Regions from separate parts of the Homo sapiens genome. Here region 2 is linked to region 1. The links are contacts of gene promoters, found by promoter capture Hi-C in blood cells and fetal thymus (Javierre and others, 2016). All regions are on one chromosome and are shown on one strand. The core of a region is centred on a gene start or on the middle of the fragment in contact, and the rest is flanking DNA. Distances in the headings are between cores, read along the strand shown.

The links. Contacts are between HindIII fragments. The CHiCAGO score rates a contact against its expected background, and 5 or more counts as called.
Region 2: a contact is called between a fragment that was not itself captured here and the fragment with the promoter of PUS3 in region 1, in 1 of 17 cell types (non-activated CD4 T cells). The highest score is 5.6, in non-activated CD4 T cells.

The regions. Positions count from the first base shown.
Region 1 is chr11:125,900,114-125,906,019 of GRCh38, forward strand. PUS3 (pseudouridine synthase 3) reads right to left here and starts at 3,093. Exons shown (of 4, transcript NM_031307.4): 1 at 3,057-3,093. It overlaps HYLS1 (HYLS1 centriolar and ciliogenesis associated), which reads left to right. Exons shown (of 3, transcript NM_001134793.2): 3 at 1-533. The coding sequence ends at 155. DDX25 (DEAD-box helicase 25) reads left to right here and starts at 4,395. Exons shown (of 12, transcript NM_013264.5): 1 at 4,395-4,467; 2 at 5,099-5,165; 3 at 5,440-5,484. The coding sequence starts at 4,405. The HindIII fragment of the contact is 3,679 bases long and covers 127-3,805 here.
Region 2 is chr11:126,081,140-126,087,045 of GRCh38, forward strand. No RefSeq gene overlaps it. Among named protein-coding and RNA genes, the nearest start is that of CDON, 21 kb to the left of the region's middle. The HindIII fragment of the contact is 817 bases long and covers 2,603-3,419 here.

The DNA.
Region 1 (5,906 bases), core at 1,843-4,342:
CAGAACCCCAATCCAAACCTCAGCATATATATGTCCCAAACAATTATCTAGTACCAACAGAGAAGAAAAGGTCTGCACTCCGTTGGGGTGTTCGTTGTGACCTTGCAAATGGTGTCATACCCAGGAAGCTTCCCTTCCCTCTTTCTCCTTCTTAAATCTTTTTAAACTTCTTTCACAGGATTGTTTGAGATAACCTAGCTCTTTATATCTTCCCTTTTAAATAGAAACAACTGTCTTGAGAAGCTCTTCGAAACATTTTATGGTAAGGACTTCACCTATCATTGGTCTTTCCTAGCTATATATCACATTGGTATCAGATGATACTTCCAAATTGCCACTCAAATCCAGCAATTGCAAGATAAATCATATCAGAGAAAGAACAACAGACCTGGTCTTTCTATTTTGTCAAATTAGTAAGGGCCCTTTGTGTCCTGTAACTTTTTTTACCTATCAATATGAGTTGCTGTGCTTCAGTGTGTGTTTTTTAAGTTGCTGGGCATTACACTTACCAATTAAAGAATTTTGGAAATTCATGAACTTGAACATTATTTCATGAAATACTTGCCTAAGATGATCTTGAACCTGGGCTATGATGAGAGCTCAAAAGAAGGAACAAGCCGGGCGCGGTGGCTCACGCCTGTAATCCCAGCACTTTGGGAGGCTGAGGCGGGCGGATCACGAGGTCAGGAGATCGAGACCATCCTGGCTAACACGGCGAAACCCCGTCTCTACTAAAAATACAAAAAATTAGCCGGGCGAGGTGGCGGGCGCCTGTAGTCCCAGCTACTCGGGAGGCTGAGGCAGGAGAATGGCGTGAACCCCAGGGGGCGGGGCCTGCAGTGAGCCGAGATTGCGCCACTGCACTCCAGCCTGGGCGACAGCGAGACTCCGTCTCAAAAAAAAAAAAAAAAAAAGAAGGAACAAAAACCTGCCTTTTACATAGTCCTAAAGGATGGGAGAGGTTAACAACATGGATAGCCTCATTACTAAAGGTGTACAACAAATCCAAGTAGCTTTAAAATACTTTCTAACAAATGCCCCAAAACAGTACCATATAACATACAGGATTCAAACTTGTTTTATTTCAGAATTATTTCATTAATATTTTGCCTGCCAGCTGTTATTTCTGGAATACCATTCTTTTTATAATTTGCCCCTGAGATTTTTGTAGGAATTATGCATCATTTGGAAGGGTATTCCTACTCCAGTAGAAATTCAAACTAGTAACATCTGGAATCAGATGCAAACATAAATACCAATATGAACCTAGCCTGTTTGGGTGCAGATCAAAATAGGAATTCTGCTCACCTTAAATTGTAATTTATCTGTTCTTGATATTTCTGACCCAACGGGGACCATCTAAAATCTGAAAGTTGTCAGTTTTAACACCAGAGGCCAGAAGAATGATAGTACAGTTTGCTTGTTCACAGAGAAAAAGTTCTAACATAAAGGTGAATGACCTTGACCGTTACTATCTGCGAAAATCATTTTCCCTGTAACATTTAAAGCCACATAATTCACACATTCACCCAGTTCTATTTGTTAGGCATTTGTCTGGAAAAGAAGTAATCAATGACTCAGGTACATGTAGGATATACTCACCGCAAAAAAGTAGAAACTGCAAACTGTCCACCAACAGTGGAATAGTAAATGTCTTTAAAGACATTAGAATATTAAATAGTCATTGGGAATCTTGGGAAAGTAATATGGGAAGGTGAAATTAAGTGACATGAATGTATCATAAACTATACAGGATGATCTCAGTACACACAGGGAAAGATCAAAACCTAACGAGTAGTGGGATTAAAGGTAATTTGTATTTATACCTCGACTTTTTATGAGGTCAAAAATTACATGGTGATTTTAACATGCAAAACACTCCAGTGATTATTTGGATCTCAAAGTCCAACATTACCAAAGTCTCCAAAGTTCAACTCCCGTGCTAACTAAAGAACTAGGCCAGGGAGTGAGTCTAGTTGGTCATAAGGCAGATTTGTGGCAAAAACAGGACTTGGTACACTACAGTGCTTTTTCCAGCACACCTTACCCTAATTCAGGGTGAAGTGCAGGAGTTCCCAAGCAGACGTTTAAAGTAACACCCTGGCCAGGGCTGCGAAGTAACCACAGAGAGGGAATTCGTGTGTCCCCTAAGCACCAATTACAAACTAAAACGGCCATCACCAGATGTTCCATACATTGGGCCAGGCGCCGTGGCTCACGCCTGTCATCCCAACATTTTGAGAGGCCAAGACGGGGTGGTGGCGGGGGGGAGGGGGGGTCGCTCGAAGTCAGGAGTTCGAGACCAACCTGGGCAACACAGCGAGACCGTGTGTTAATTAAAAAATTAAAAACTAGGCTGCCAAGATGGCGCACGCCTGCAGTCCCAGCTAGTTGGAGGCTGAGGTGGAAGGATCGCTTGAGCCCAGGAGGTAGAGGCTGCAGTGAGCAGTGATCACGCCACTTCACTCAGCCTGGGCGACAGTCTTAAAAAAAAAAAAAAAAAAGTCCTAATCTCAGGAACCAGTGGGTTAACACATAAATAGCATTCCTCTTGATAAACTTTATATTAATCCAAAGGGAAGAAGAGGGAGTACTGTCCAAAGGATTAGCAGACACGCACTATGATCACTAGAAAGCAATCGTGGTCTGTATGTAAGGCAATCCCCAAAATAATTTGAAAATTGCTGCCACAGCCTCCCACATACTCCTGGGTTCTCAACTTCTACTGTTTTATGAGCACCCAATTCTAAGTGGGGCAGCAGAGCACTTTTGTACTCCACAGTACAAGTACCACTGAAGCTCCCGTCACAACGGAATTAAAGACGACCCTACTGCGGCGAGTTTCCACCGAGAGCTCCAGAAAGTACCAGGCACAAAAGAAAAATACATGGTCTTAAGCGAGGTCTCATTTCCATACGGCAATGCTTTCCTGAAAAGACCAAAGTATGTGAAAGAGGGCAAAAAGAAGACAACAGACAACCGTTCAGCAGTGTGTCCATTTGTCCCTTCCCCTGTGGAACCCAGAAAGTAACCCACTCCAAAAATCCCACACTTACTTTCCGGCAGCCGGCCGCGCCGCGTTTCCGAGAAAGGAAGCTGTCACTGTGCGTCTTCTGCGCAGGCGCCCGAGCCCTCATGGGAGGTGTAGTCCAAGTTTGTGGGAAATGTAGTTCTGAGAACCGAGCTTGGTGCTAGAATCTACCTGAGGTTTTCTAGTCCAGCTACCGTTTCTCCGCCCACAGGGCAGAATCTGGGCCTGTGGCGGGACAGCAATAAAAGGAGGAATTGTAGTGCTACGCTAAAATAATAGAAAAAAGGTAATTTTTCAAATTCTGCTATCCTTATACGAAAACTAAAAGATTGAAGATCTTGGCTCGATTTTATACCTAGTTAAATGAGAAGAAAGTTACCATTGAGAGACAAAAACATTTACTATTAGAATTCAAATTAAAAGCTGAAATGAATATGATAATCTCAAAACAAACGACTAGGTGCCCTGAGAGTGACCGAACAGAGCGGGGAGCGTTGCTTCAGCACCACGGAGAGATCATGACTGCAGTTTCGTGTGGGTTTTTGTATTTTTGCCCCCAATTCCAGAAATGCTGATCAAAATCTCAAAATTACAATTAGAAAACTGGGGGGCGGGGGGGAGGTGGAATTTGGTTCTTTCGTCCAAATTGAGCGGTCATTAAATCATTAGTACCAGGGATCCAGGGATCTATACCGGATTATGCAAACGCATGTAGGACGTAGAGGTTATACCGAAAGGTAATGTTTTTAACAAGAGACCACATTTCAGAATAAAAGCTTTAAAAAGCCTATGTGGAACATCACAGGTATCTAGGGCAGGAACAGCAGTTAGAGCTTGAACAGTTCTGCTTCCTTTCCGCAACTGTGGCATTCGAGGTCATTCGTCATATCAAATTCATCAGATTTTGTCTCCACTTTGCTAACCAATTCGCTAACCTTTCTGACATCTTGTGATGTGGAGGCGGAAATTTCCAGGGAAACCGACACGGGGCGTAAAGCGCGGCGGGGAGTCCGGGGGGCTCCCGCCTGGAGGGCTGTGTGAGCGGCGGGCCGCGGGGCGGCGCGGGGGGCGCTCTCCACTCTGCGGAAGCTGCCCCCTCTGCCCTCCGGTCCGCGCCCTTTCGCCCCGCTCTCTGCCCTCCGCCCCGCTCTCTGCCCTCCGCCCCGCTCTCTGCCCCCCGCCCCGCTCTCTGCCCTCCGCCCCTTCCGCGCGCCACCCAGCCTTCCAGCGCCTGCGCGCCGCACCGCGGTGGTCGCGGGCGCGGACGCGGACGCCTGCCCCCTAAGGAAGCCCATTGGCCAGCGGATGGGGCCAGCACCGCCTCGCGCCGGTGGTGGAAGCACGTGCTGGGGGCGGGAGCAGCAATCGCAGCCATGGCGTCGTTACTGTGGGGAGGCGACGCAGGGGCGGCGGAGAGCGAGCGGCTGAACAGCCACGTAACCGCCACCGAGCCGGGGGGCCACAGCCGCGGGGGTGGAGCTCCCACTCGCAGAGGGAGATCGGCTGGGAGGGGAGGGAGAGCCCGCGAGCGTTCGAAGTGGGGCGTCAGATGCTGGAGGGGAGATGCGGGAAGGGTTTGGAAGAGGGCCACAGAGGGAGACCCCGTCCCCACCCCCACGAGAGGCAAGACCTTTGGTTAGAAAGGGCAAAAATGACGACCCCTGGAAATCCAGGGTGGGAACGCAGCTGGTAGTCCCAGCTAGACCCCGAGTTTTCTACTCTGCCCATTTGCCCATTAAGCCTCACCTCGCTTCCATCCATTTGCCAGCGCACTTTCCTAGCCACCCTCCCCTTGTTGGTGCCGTGAGCCCCAAGTACTGCCCAACTCTAAACTAGAGGCCTAGGAAAGAGAAACTGCATGTACAGGGAATACAGAAAATCTCCAATTTTAGGGTAACTCATACAGGAAACCCAACCTTGAAAGGAATCTGCTGCTACCTAATATTGCAAAGGAAGCAATACCCGGGTGTCCTTCCCTGAATCCCTCCCAGCCCCTGTGGTAGGGAAGCACTGGGCTGCTTGAGGGCTTGCATCCTAATATTGGTTGAAATTTGTGTCTCTCAATAGTTTTCAAACCTCAGCCAACCCCGGAAGAACCTTTGGGGTATTAAGAGTACTGCAGTCCGAAACATAGGTGAGTGCTGTTAGGGCAAAGCAGAGCGACCTCAATGATTAAAAAGTATTGTTTTGCTTTCATCACGTCCCTGCCAAGTGAAACACCGCGGATTCATTAGTGTGACATTCAGCACTCTCCATTACCTTCCCAATCGTTTCGTCCATTCCTCCATGAAATGACTCTTCTTGCCAGTAGACACTGAAGAGTCAGGAAGAAAAAATTGAATAGCATGCTTTACATTTGTGCTCAGCATTTGTCTTTACTTGTATTGTTTCTCTTCCATCCTTTCCAGATGGTTCTATTAATAACATCAATGAAGATGATGAAGAAGATGTAGGTAGGAGATGAATTCATTTGCATGTATCTACTAGCATTCTGTTTCCGTTTATAACTTTAATAGTGTGAGTGAATAATATAATCTCAATTGGAAAAGGCCTGTCTTTGCTTCTGTTTTCTTATAGTGACTATCAGGAGACACACTAAATTAGGAGTAAGGTGTATTTATTTAAAGGAAGTTGAAATGGAATATGCAGGGATTGGGTTCAGAACTTCCATCTGTCAAGGATTTGGTCTCATGGAGATGGACTTAGGCTACTTTGAAGTTAGAGGATGGTGAAGTAACAGAGCGTAAGAAACTGAATCCTCATAAAGAACGAATCCTCAGTGCTATATCATTCTTTCTGGAACCCTCTTTTAGAGGAAAAATGAGCGTAGGTGCAATTGCTTGGTATACAACCACTGAAAGAGAAAGAGCAACTT
Region 2 (5,906 bases), core at 1,761-4,260, 180 kb after region 1:
TGTTGTCTCTGAAACTTCTTGGACCTTGCCAGCGTGTTCTTTGGTCCTCTTCTTACGTGGAACTGCCAGTATCAGTGTGCCACTGAGCCTCAGTCTGTTCCATGATTTGTTTATTTTTAAATTTTATTTTATTTTATTTTTAGAGACTGGGTCTCACTCTGTGGCCCAGGCTGGAGTGCAGTGGCATGATCATGGCTCACTGCAGCCTCAAACTCCTGATCTCAAGTGATCTGTCTGCCACAGCCTCGCGAGGAGCTAGGACCACGGGCACTCACCACCATGGCTGGCTAATTTTCTCTCTCTTTTTTATTTTTGTAGAAATGGGAGTCTGTGTTGCCCAGGCTGGTCTCAAATTCCTGGCCTCAAGTAATACTCCTGCCTCAGCATCCCAAGGCACTGGGATAACAGGCTTGAGCCACAGCGTGCCTGGCCTATTTAAAACCTTTTCTTTCAAGAAAACAGAAGTATCTTAGGGGATTTAGAACCATACTACTATGGTCCTGCTTCAGAAAATCTACTATCTCTTTATGTATTTTTTCATCTAACTCAGTTTTGTTGTGCATTGTTTAGGTCAGAGTTGTTTAAGCTCAGCACTATTGATATTTTGGGCCAGATAATTCCATGTGGTGGGGACTCTCTTGAGCAGTTGAGAATGTTTAACGGCAACCCTGGCCCTCCCCCCACTAGATGCCAGTAGCACCCACTCCTCTGGTTGTGGCAAAATATCTCTAGACATTGCCAGTGTCCTCTGGGATAAGGTTGTCAGATTTAGCAAATAAATTTGATATCAAAATTAGCAAATATATTTGATATCAAAATATATTTTATCTGGCAGCCTTCCTCTGTGGGCAAAAATCACTCCAGGTTGGGAACCACGGGTTTAAATACCCTACACGTTCACATTCATTTACTCACATGATAACTGCGTCAGGTAGTTACTAGCAACCCATTCTAAAGATGAGGAAACTGAGTCTTGAAGAAGGAAAGTGGCTTGCCCACAGTCACCCAGGTCGATGGCTCATTTCAGTGCTCTTTCCATTTTATTACAGTGGCCCAACAGAGCTCAGCCTCTTGCAATATCTTCCTTGTTTATGAACATTCAGGAGGCTCCATTCCAACTCTTCTGGGCTGATGCTCTGATGATTGGGACATCGATTGTGTGAAGGGCCAAACTAGACATTGTCCTACAAACCTCTCCACCTCACACAGCTCTGAAAACGTTTCTTGGAGAGGAGGCAAAGGGAGAGGAAGGGAAAGGAACAGCAGGGGGTGCAGGGTCCCCGCCTCCCACAGCTCCGCAGCCAAAGCCTGGAGAGACAAAAGGCAGTGCGGCGCAGGGGTGATTATTTCCCTTGCTCTATCACCCAGCTCAATGGGGCATTCTGGATGCCTGCCCTCCGATGCCCAGGGGCCTTATTAACAGACCTCAGCTGTTGCCCAAAGCCCTTACCTCACCCAAGAGGGCTCTATTTGCATGATAATGCCCTCCTTGGGGGAATTATTGCTTAATTAAAGAACAGCAATCACTTTAATTAGCATGCCTCCTTGCTCCCTGGTACTTTGCATGGATTCAAATGAGCTCCTCATTAGGTATTGGCACTTGGACAAATCGAGGGCCTCTGGCTGGGAAGGGAGGCTCCCAGGGCAGGCAGCCCCAGCCGGGACCTCAATGGCGGGGAGGCCCAGCCCTGCCAAGAACACAACCCCGGCTTTGTGAAGGGAATGGCAGACAGGGCCTGGGCCAGCACCCTTTGAGGCCCACAACAGGGCACACAGGGGAGGGCCAGGCCCTGGAGGGTGGTGTTTGCAGGCGCCGGCCAAGGGCTCTCTCTTTGCCTCTGTCCGCTTGAGCTACACCCCCCTTTCAGCTCTTTTGCCATTGGCATTTAGCTGTATTACACCATCCTCCTCCTCCCGTAAGAATGTTTGGAGCCTTTCTCCATCAGTCCCCGCTACACCCATGCGCACCTGGCTCAGTCTCAGTGCCCCTCAGACTCTTCACTCCCAGTTTTGGAGTGCAGTTTTCTCTTCTAACTGGTAATGTAGGAGGATGGCACATAAAACAAAACAAGCAAACAAGAAAACACACCTGTCTTCATCCAGAGATGGTATCTCTCTCCCAGGGCAAGATCACCCTGCTCTTTAGCTTCTCTCCCCTGAGATCTAGAAAGAATCCAGGAACAACTCCACCCACAGACCCCTGAGCTGCATTTCCAGAAATAGGGGCCACTGTGGATTCTCACCACCACAACTCACCCTCCCCCAATCATTAATAAAACCTAGGTTATTTTGTGGGCCACCGAACTACTGCTTTCAGCACATGGAGTCCGACGCCGACCTAATTATACTTTGATATTTCTCTTGATCTCTGTTAGAGTAGAGCAACTGGCTCCCCTCCAGGAAGAATCTTCTTCCTCTGCCTGGATGTCAGTGTACCTAAAATCACCTGACTTTTGTTCTCCTTCCTACCTCTGTCTCTCTCTCTTTCTCTCTGTCTCTCTATCTATCTCTTACACGCACACACACACACACACACACACTCTCCACGGAGAAGGTAAAAATGTCTCTAGGTTTGTATTCAAGAGATCTGGTTTCCAGTCTAAGCTTAGCATCCAGGGAAGAAGCATCTGTCTCAACTCTTTTCTGGAGTTTTCAGGAAGAGAGAGAATAGCTCCAGGCTGCCACCCCAGAGAGACCCAAAGCAGCCCTGACTCAATCCAGGACCTTCCTCCACAGCCCCAGCAGGTGCACATTCAGTCTCTCAGGCAGCTCCAGCTCCAGCTCCCTCACCTCCAACCTCCCCCGCAACCCCAGTGAGCCAGCCTGGGGCTCCCCTATCTTTAGAGTCTCCGCTTTCCCTGTGTGAGAGGAGAATTCCACCAGAAGAGGAGGGAGCTGGGAGCTATGTCAAGGGCTCAAGCTGGAGAGCCGTGGAGGGGAGTGGAAGCGGGGAGCTGGTGGTGGTGTCTGGGGAGAAAGGAACTCACTCCCCTCAGCATCATCCTGCAGAGAGAGTAACAGCAAATCAGAGGTAAATCCACTTCCTGGCAGGAAGCTGAGCCTGAAACCAGATGAAGCCACAGTGGTTCAAAGGCAGAGTGACACTCAAACAAGAGAGCAGCCCTTAATCCCCCATAGAAAGATGAGAATGGCGCGCTCAGGCCCAGGAGGGAGACCGTGCGGCTTTGTGTAAGCAGGATTGAAAACACAGCCCTATTGAAAGGCTGGGACTTCGAGACACAGACCCTGAGGGCCAGTTGCCAAGTTGAAGGCAGCCCAAGGCTGCCAGCTTTCACCTCTTTAGTTCTGGCCTTGGCAGTAATGAGGTGAAGGGCCGGGACTTTTAACTGGCTAGGTCAAAAAGGTTTCCTTATTAGACAAACAGTGCGGGCTGGGGGTGGGGGGTGCATTGGTGTCTAAGCTTAGAACCGATAGCTTCCAGAAAAAGAGGCAGAGCCAGAGGTCTGTCTCCTCACACACCTGCCTCTCCTGCCGAGCCAGCCCCTGGATCTTCACCTCTGTCCCAGCCTGCTCCTGCCCATCCGCACCAGGCTTGAGGAGGGGACTTGAGGAGGTGTCAAGAGGGCCAGAAGAGGGCCCAGCGAGCTATGGAGTGACACAGAGTGGGCTGGGGAGGAAACTGCCCTGAGGCTGCTTCTTTTTTTTTTGAGACAGAGTCTCATTCTGTTGCCCGGCTGGAGTGCAGTGGCATGATCTTGGCTCACAGCAACCTCTGCCTCCTGGGTTCAAGTGATTCTCCTGCCTTAGCCTCCTGAGTAGCTGGGACTACAGGCACACGCCACCACGCCCAGCTAATTTTTGTGTTTTTAGTAGAGACAGGGTTTCCCCATGTTAGCCAGGATGGTCTCGAACTCCTGACCTTGTGATCCGCCCACCTCGGCCTTCCAAAGTGCTGGGATTACAGGCGTGAGTCACCGTGCCCAGCCGAGGCTGCTTCTTGACCTATAGGTCAGCGCCTGTGATAAGGCAAACTTGGGGAGAACAGCCCTGTCCGGTGGGTAGACAGCCTGCAGCAGTGAGCGCCCCCTTTCCTGGGTGGCGGCAGAACAGCTCCGTGCGCAGCTGCTGTCCCCAGCACTGCCCTGGCATCAAAGGCCCACACCCTGCTTGTGTCTCTAAAGCTGTTTGTCAACCAGTGCTCTACAAAGACCTCAAGTTTAGAAGCTGGTGCCTGGGGGACCAAAAGACAGGGTGTAGGGGGTGTAGCGGAAGAGGATTCCCAAGCTGAGTGAAAGGATTTCCTATCCCCTCACTCACACATCTCAACCAGAACAGCTTCTTTTTATTGACTTGCCATATCTTCCATGTAAGATTTCATCCAAGGAGACAATTACAGAAACCAGAGAGTTGAAAAAGCACTGTCCTACAAGGTGAGAAGGTGCTCTGGAGGGGAGACTCATACTTCTCTAGTTTCATAACAATATCTTTGCACAGTTAGCATCCAAATATAATTCATTAAAGAAGTGCTTCTTAAACACCTTATTCACATGGCCACTAGTTCCACAGAGTATTGGCGGCTTGCAAAGAGATGCATGCACTAAAGCAGGAGTAAGTCCAAATAAGAATGAATAACTAGGATCACAGAAAATATACACGAAATGAAATCAAGACTAGGGAAGAGAAACACACATACACGGGGGATAAAGTCCTGCATATTTGCTGTTATTGGACTCCAGATTGGCTTCTGAGCTTCCCTGAAGGCAAATCTGGAGAGGAAAAGAGAGAGGAAAAAAAGGAGACAGACAGACAGATGTCTGGAATCTAATTCTCTTTACCAGAATGAAGGAAATATACCAGCGTGTCAGGCTAAGCAAAATTTTTTCCAGCTGTAAGTTTTAGAAGAAATTTCTCACAATGAAATTCGTATAGGCAGTGCTGAGTAACAGGATTGGCAATGTCTTTAGTTGACACCCTACAGTAATAAGACTCCGTTGATGAGGGTACAAGATAAAATGGCCCAAAAGAATGGTCTTGTATCACTTTAGTTTGATCTAAGCATAACCCATCCATTTTAGTTTGGGTTCCCCTAGAAGCAGACCTGGAGAAAGGGATTCAAATACAAGTCATTTGTTTGATCCCAGTAAACACTAGTAGGAGAGTGGGCAAGTGAGACAGGAAAGGAAAAAAGGCCCCCAAAAAGGTGTGTTACCAAGCTAGTTCCTACTAAGGGAATTAAAGCTCATCCCCACTGAGGAATTCTGGGAGTGTTGAACAGCCTCTGAATCATCCTACCTGAGGCGGGGAGGGAGCTGGGGCATATATACCAACTCCCATCAATCAATGGTTGAGGGCTGCTCTAGGAGCATGAATTCCCCGGTGTGTCTGGTTTACCACATATGTGGGCAAAGCAGGCTGCAGCAGGCAAAGAAAGGCCTCAGGCAAGTGATATAGAAGCTGGCAGTCGGAATGTCAGCCAGCATGCCCCGAAATGGTACAGGCCAAGGAGGTGCCGACAGGATGCTGACAGCATCACATCAGCTTGGGGACCCATGGTGACACCCTAGCAGGAGCAGCCCCAGGACACAGAGGTTGCAGCGAGCCAAGATCGCGCCACCACACTCCAGCCTGGGCGACAGAGTGAGCCTCCATCTAAAAAAAAAAAAAGAAAAAGAATGACATTCTGGTTTAGAGTTTTTATAATACTTTTATAATTTAAAAATTTGGAAAATGTTTATAACGACATTTCTGCCAGGAAATACTTCCTGTGGACTTTGATTTTCATGGCAGTATCAAAATGCGTGTTTTATATGTACATCAGCAACTAGGGATCTATACTCTTCATATGTGGTCCACTTCCTGGCCCCTTTGTCAAGGCCAACGAGAGGTGAGGAAAAAACCTCAATCTGGCCGGGTGCAGTGGCTCATGCCTGTAATCCCAGCACTTT